Regions from separate parts of the Homo sapiens genome. Here region 2 is linked to region 1. The links are contacts of gene promoters, found by promoter capture Hi-C in human tissues and cell types (Jung and others, 2019). All regions are on one chromosome and are shown on one strand. The core of a region is centred on a gene start or on the middle of the fragment in contact, and the rest is flanking DNA. Distances in the headings are between cores, read along the strand shown.

Evidence for each region. Contacts are between HindIII fragments. The study calls those that stand out against the background at their distance.
Region 2: a contact is called between a fragment that was not itself captured here and the fragment with the promoter of OTUD4 in region 1, in 1 of the 25 tissues and cell types used here (heart left ventricle).

Annotation. Positions count from the first base shown.
Region 1 is chr4:145,178,956-145,182,154 of GRCh38, forward strand. It overlaps OTUD4 (OTU deubiquitinase 4), which reads right to left and starts at 1,634. Exons shown (of 21, transcript NM_001366057.1): 1 at 860-1,634. The coding sequence starts at 1,018. RefSeq lists enhancers at 736-1,565, 1,566-2,395 and silencers at 741-1,200, 1,321-1,550, 1,641-2,040. The HindIII fragment of the contact is 5,371 bases long and covers 1-3,199 here.
Region 2 is chr4:146,336,759-146,339,957 of GRCh38, forward strand. The region is part of intron 5 of SLC10A7 (solute carrier family 10 member 7); the gene reads right to left. Among named protein-coding and RNA genes, the nearest start is that of MIR7849, 70 kb to the right of the region's middle. The HindIII fragment of the contact is 6,347 bases long and covers 1-3,199 here.

The DNA of each region.
Region 1 (3,199 bases), core at 384-2,883:
GAGCAGAAACTTTTATCCAGCTACTTCGGCAGCTATTTTTCAATATAGGATGGGTTTTGGTGACTGCACACCTACAACACACAGTGTTATATAACATGGAATAAGCTCGCTCAAAAAAAAAAATTCAGAAAAATCTTCCTGAGCAACTGTGTTAGAAAATGGTTTTGAAAAGCTCCAGTTACACGTACCCTTTCTACTACCAACATCAAAACAGGCTTTTTTAAAAAAGTCAGTTCTGTTTAGTATACCTACACAGCCCAGCAGAGCATAATAAAGGGTGGAACCTACTCAAGACAAATCCTTCAAAATATTCTATATTTGTAAAAGGCTGGTTTTCTCAAACGGCAGTTTGCCCATTTGATTCAAGTGACATGGGCGAGCTTGCCTACCCTACATTCCAAAGTCCAGCAGCAAACCAAAATATGTTCCACAAGTAAAGTTTGATCCACCACTTCTAGTAAACACTTGGTTTACTGGAGTGGGGTGAGCGTGGTGCTTCTCAAACGAAGGGAAGGAAGGTGAATGCGGAACAAAAGTAAAAAATATCATGTCGCCAGGTCCCCAGCAATAAATCAACTGTACAAGCTCCGAGCAGGCCTCACAAGTTGTCCTCAACTCATTACCTCTTCATCAGGAGAGAGACACCCCGTTAATTTGCGGGCTTTCGAGTTTCAATTTGCACCTTTCAGACGCAAAGCAGCGTCCCACTCCGGCGTTACAATGGGGCGCTGTGACGACAGCCAGGGCACGCGCAGCCCCGGCCGTGGGCGGCCCGGACAGCCCGCAGCTGCCTCCCCACCCAGACCCGCCGGGCCGTCCCCGCCTCCCCTCGAAGCCCTCCCCGCCCCCCCGCAATTACCTGCTCCGCCACGGCCCGGAACAGGCACGACCCGTCCTTGGCGACCAGTTTCCGATACAAGCCCAGTTTCCGCAGATAGGCGTCCATGGGCGTCGCGTCCTCGCGGGGCCCCGCGCCGCCCTGGTCCCCGCCGTCGGGGACGCCGACGGCAGCCTCCATGTTGCTGGTCCTGCTGCAGGCCAGGCGCGGCGAGGGCTAGCCCCACATGGCCAGGCCGCCGGCTGCTCGACGCCCCGGCCTGGGGCAGGCGGCGGCTCGGGCTGGGGCTCGGGCTCCGCGAGCGGCGGCAGGCGGCGGCGGCCCGAGGCAGCGGTCCGCGCTCTCCGGGCGCATAGGGAAGCCCTGCCTAATGCATGGCTGTCCGCACGCGGCCGCCTCCTCGGAGCGAACACGCGCCCACGACAAACGGGGGGAGCGGGATTAAGGAAAACCCCGAGAGTGAGTAGTCACTTCCCGACGGCCTCGCTGCCTGACTCAGGACCCAGGCCGGGGGTCGCCGCCCCCACAAGTTTCCTCCTCCGTACCGGTGTGAAGCGAGAAAACCCCCGCCCCTGGCGCGCACGCTGGGCCGGCTCAGGTGAAGCGGGGCCTGCGCCCCCGCGCACTCCCCACGCCGGGAGCCGAGGAAACCAAAAAGAAAGACGCGGCCTTTCGTTTCCCCACCTCGCTGGAGGGCGCCGGAGGGGCAGGGAGCGGGTGGGGGCGCCCGGGAGAGAACAGCACCTCGCAGCCCAGAATTTGTTTTCGCTTTCGGCCCGACAGCGGAGAGGACGGCGGGAGATGTAGTCTTGGCAGCCGCAGGAAGTCGGCTTGCGGCGGGCGGGGACGCGCTGGCCGGCCTACCCGGGGGAGGTGCCCGGGAGGCGCGCGGACTACAAGTCCCTACAGCGCGGGCGCGCCGCCGCCACCGCCACCGCCCCAAGCCGGCTTCGCGCTGCACTGGCGCCGCGTCCGCGAGCAGGCCGAGGGGCTCCGCCGGCCGATGTGGGGCGACCTGCGCGCGCCACCCGCCAACCCTGCCGCTGCGCCGCGGGAATCGCGCGCGCCGGGCTGGCGTGGAGTTGCCAGGGACACGGCGGCGCAGTGTCGGCCCTTTGTGTATTTCTTTCCAGAGGGCGCACCTGTCTGCTCCCTTCCCCCCGGCCTGCTCTCCTGGTGTTTCCATGGAGGTGGCTTTAACGGCTTAAGCAGAAAATAGAGCTAATTGGCTGAGGCTCCGGGAACTGGCACGGTGCGGGACGACACACTCTGTCCATAAATCAACCGTGGACTGCTGATTGCTATTAGTAGTACAGCTCACGTACTACGGCAAGATGAAGGCTTTGCCAAAGACATTTTTGTTCACCCTGTCACTGTAGCTGAGCACCCCATCACAGAGACATGTCACTGTCGGAAGACGTTAGGGTTTTTTTTTCCCCCTTAAAAAATTCATCTTGTAAATTGCTTGATAACATGCTGACTGGACTGGCCATGGCTTCCACCAGTGCTCGAGGCTTCAGCTCAACTTCCCACCCTCCGACGTTGAATGGCAGGGAATTGACAAAGTTAAATTATGCTTTAGAACCCAGAATTTATCCAGCATGCTTCTGTTGCACCAAAATTTTATTTTGCTAAGATACAACATCTGGTGTCCTTATTTAAATACATGGTTAATCATAGGAACTAATTCAGTCTTTTAGGCTATGGTGGAGGAGAGGGAGAAGAAAAGGGAGCATTACTATAGGTTTAGACATGTAGTCAAATACCTTGGAATGGGGGGCAAGGCAGGCCAGGTGGTGAGAGTCCAACGACAAAAATTTTTTAAAAACTACGTTAGACACTTTTCAGTATTTTCAGTGCAAGCAATCAGTCATGTATTCACTTTCCTTGGAGCGTCTTTGATTTCTTAATGTTTAAATATTGTATCTCAAATTATGCTGCTTTTAGAGAATACAAACGTTATCGTTACCTAAATGAAAAAATGTCCCTGCCTCAAATTTACTTGTTGTAGCGAAGAAACACTTTGAAATCAGGTTTAGAAAAGTATAGTTTCAGCTGGGCGTGGTGGCTCACGCCTGTAATCCCAGCACTTTGGGAGGCCGAGGCAGCCCGGTCACCTGAGGTCAGGAGTTCGAGACCAGCCTGACCAACATGGAGAAACCCCGTCTCTACTAAAAATACAAAATTAGTCGGGCGTGGTGGCACATGCTACTCGGGAGGCTACTCCCAGCTACTCGGGAGGCTGAGGCAGGAGAATAGCTTGAACCCAGGAGGCAGAGGTTGCGGTGAGCCGAGATCCCAACATTGCATTCCAGCCTGGGCAACAAGAGCGAAACTCCGTCTCAAAAAAAAAAAAAAAAA
Region 2 (3,199 bases), core at 315-2,814, 1.2 Mb after region 1:
AAAGATGCTGAATAGCAGACAGAATGTGTGGGGTTTAGGGCTCTAATATCTAGAGCTATATAAAAGAGGACAGAAAAATATAAGAACACAAAAGTGGAATAATATGTACATTGCTGATTAGAACTAATATAGTGATATATGTTAAAGATGAAAAACAGCATTCAAACTCATGACTTCTCTTTTTTGTTTTTAACTGAAAAAGCAAACCTTCAGGCAATGTAAACTCATAGAACTGTATTACATTAATTTGGCTTTTTCTATCCAGGTTAAGAGTGACAAAAACAATTTGAAATTTAATTAGAGCCCAGGGCAACAGAGATGTGGGAACTTTCTATCATTTTCCAAAAGATTTTCATGTAAACATCTTCTAAGTTTTAGATTTAACAGGCAATAAATAATTTTCTAAAGAAGTTTCTTAAAAATGCTTATTTGCAGAGTATATATTAGACCAAGGAGGAAGCAAAAGGAAACTAAATCAAAATTTATTTTTTGAAGACTAGAGTATAAAGACATAAGCTTTCACAGTGAAAGTAAGACCTAACAGAGCTCACTTTGGCCTGCATGCCTCCACCATGGGCACACAGCTACAATCTGAGGTTGCAGTTTTATTTTCCCTGAGAACACATGGAGCAGCCAATTATTAGTAGCACTGCAAACATTACACACAAGATACACAGCTCTCTTAAAATGTCAAGAGGATCATTTCACATTATCCAATGGTCAGCCAAAGTTCCTATGGCCTGAATATTATACATAGGAGCTTGTAGTATTTCTTGCTTTAGAATCATGGTTCAGTTGATATAAAACACCACCATCATAAAAATAGCCAATATTTATTGAGGTATATTATGTACTAGGAACTGTGCTAAGTACATTACAAACATTATCTAATTTAAAATTCTGGTAAGTAAATTGATTATCCTAATTTTATAGGTGAGAATAGAAAAGAGGCTTATAGAGACTAACCTAAGGAAGTGTCAGAAGATAGAACTCAACAAAAGGAATAAAAACAAAGTTGAGAGATCAGGAGATGGTCTGAGTTGTTAAAAAGAAAAAAATGTGCAAAGGAGGAAGCAGAAAATTTAAAAGAAAAAGATATTTAAGAAACAGATTGTAGAAAATTAATGTAAAATATATAATATTAATTAAAATTAGAGTCAACGATTACATATATAACTTGCCACTGGTGTTGGAATACATGAAAATAAGGCACTAAGTAACTCTCTTAGGTCACTAGAGTAACATGGATGTTTTTTCCCACTGGTTTAAAAGATTTAATGTGTATCTGCCATTCTGCTCATTGATGTCTGTAACACAACAGTGCCTGGCAAATATTAGGCATGCAATAATTTTTTTTGCTGAATGAAAGAACAAATGAATAGATGAATGTGTGTCCACAAATGTTTCTCTCATGGAGCAGCATATCCATTTGATAAGAAACACACACACTTTCTGAAATGTTTTAAAACCCTTGTGTTTGTAATAATAATGAGACTAGTTGACATTTATTGAATGCCTACTGTGTATATGTCAGCAACTGTTCTATGCTCTTTATATTTACTAACTCATTTGGTCCTCACAACAAACCTATGAGAAAGCTGCCACTACAATTCTCATTTTACAGAGGAGAAAATTGAGGTACATAGACAAGGAATTGTTCAGAATTCCCAAGCAGTAAGTGGCAGAATGGGAAGCAAGTCATGCAGTCTGGTTCCAGAATCCAAGATCTCTACCATTGTGTTGATATACTGGATAGGAGTTCTTTAAGAATTTAGAGAAATCAAAGAATTCTAGCTGAAAGAGACATTAGGGATAATGTGTTACCTCACTTTACAAACTGAAAAGTTGATGCCCAAGGAGGCAATGTCTCTCACTCTTGGGTGCAGAGTTAGTGGAAACACAAGGAGTAGCATTTTAGTGTCTCAAATTCCCTGCCCAGTTCTTTATTTCTGATACCACACTGCCTCCTACAAACCACTTGAGTAGAACAAAGCTCACATATGGAAGATCTGAAAGCAGTTACTCAGCACTATATTATTTACCATACATATAAAGCAACAAAACAAAACAAAACAAAAACACATAGATGATAAAATTAGAACAGATTAGAGGAAGGTTTTTAAAAGAGATTAAATCTTGAAATAGGCACTTTCATCCCTACCCTAAAAGGCCCATGAATTACCAACAAGACTATGGGAGAACATTTTTGAAAAAGCAAGGCAGAGACGTGGAATATGGAGGAGGGGGATAGTATGAAGTTCAATGAGGACAGAGAAAGGAGGCAATGGAAAGTGACTTGAGGGAGATTTGGGGAAGGGGCTTCTTATGTAGGCTCCTGGATGTTAAAATAAACTTCTAAAATAATCAAAAACTGATTCTCTTTTATATAAGACACTCAAAATAATGGTTTAATCAAAATCACTATTCAGATTTATAACAGAACTTTAACATAAACAAACAAAAAACCCAGACCATGTCTACACATGTGAAATGAATAGGTTTGGCATAGCTCATCTATTCCTTTTGGACGTGTCTAAATGATGGCACACACTGCTGTTAGATCTAGCTGTGACGATCAATACTGAGTATAAGATGGACACAATGAATGGAGACATCTGCACTACACTTGCCTTGTTTCATATTTCAATGGTCTGATTTACTCTGGTTTTTATAATATTCCTTAGCCAGAGCCATTCCTGCAGCTTAGAAAACCAGCTCTGAACTTTGTGACTCAGAGAGGCTTCAGTCAGGAGAAGGAGGTGGATTAACCAATGGTCCTAAGAAAGGTTTGCACCTCACATGAGCATCATTGGTCCACAGATCCTCCTGCCACCCCCAACACAAAGAGGCAGTAGGATCTGGGTATGCAGTTGCTTCCTTCCCTATCTACCTCTCACCATTGACACCAATTTTAAACAGGTTTCTCCCTAATAACATGTTTATTTATTATTTTTTCTCCAAGCCTAATCTACCAGATAAGGCATTTATTTTTTCTCATATCCTCACTTCTACTGACATGTTTTCCTGCCTTTTTATAGTTTCATTTGTCGTTTTTTTTTTTTTAATTTTACTTTAAGTTCCAGGATACATGTGCGGGATGTGCAGGTTTGTTACATAGGTATACATGTGTCATGGTGGTCTGCTGCACCTATCAACCCATCATCTAGGTTTTAAGCTCCGCATGCATTAGATATTTGTC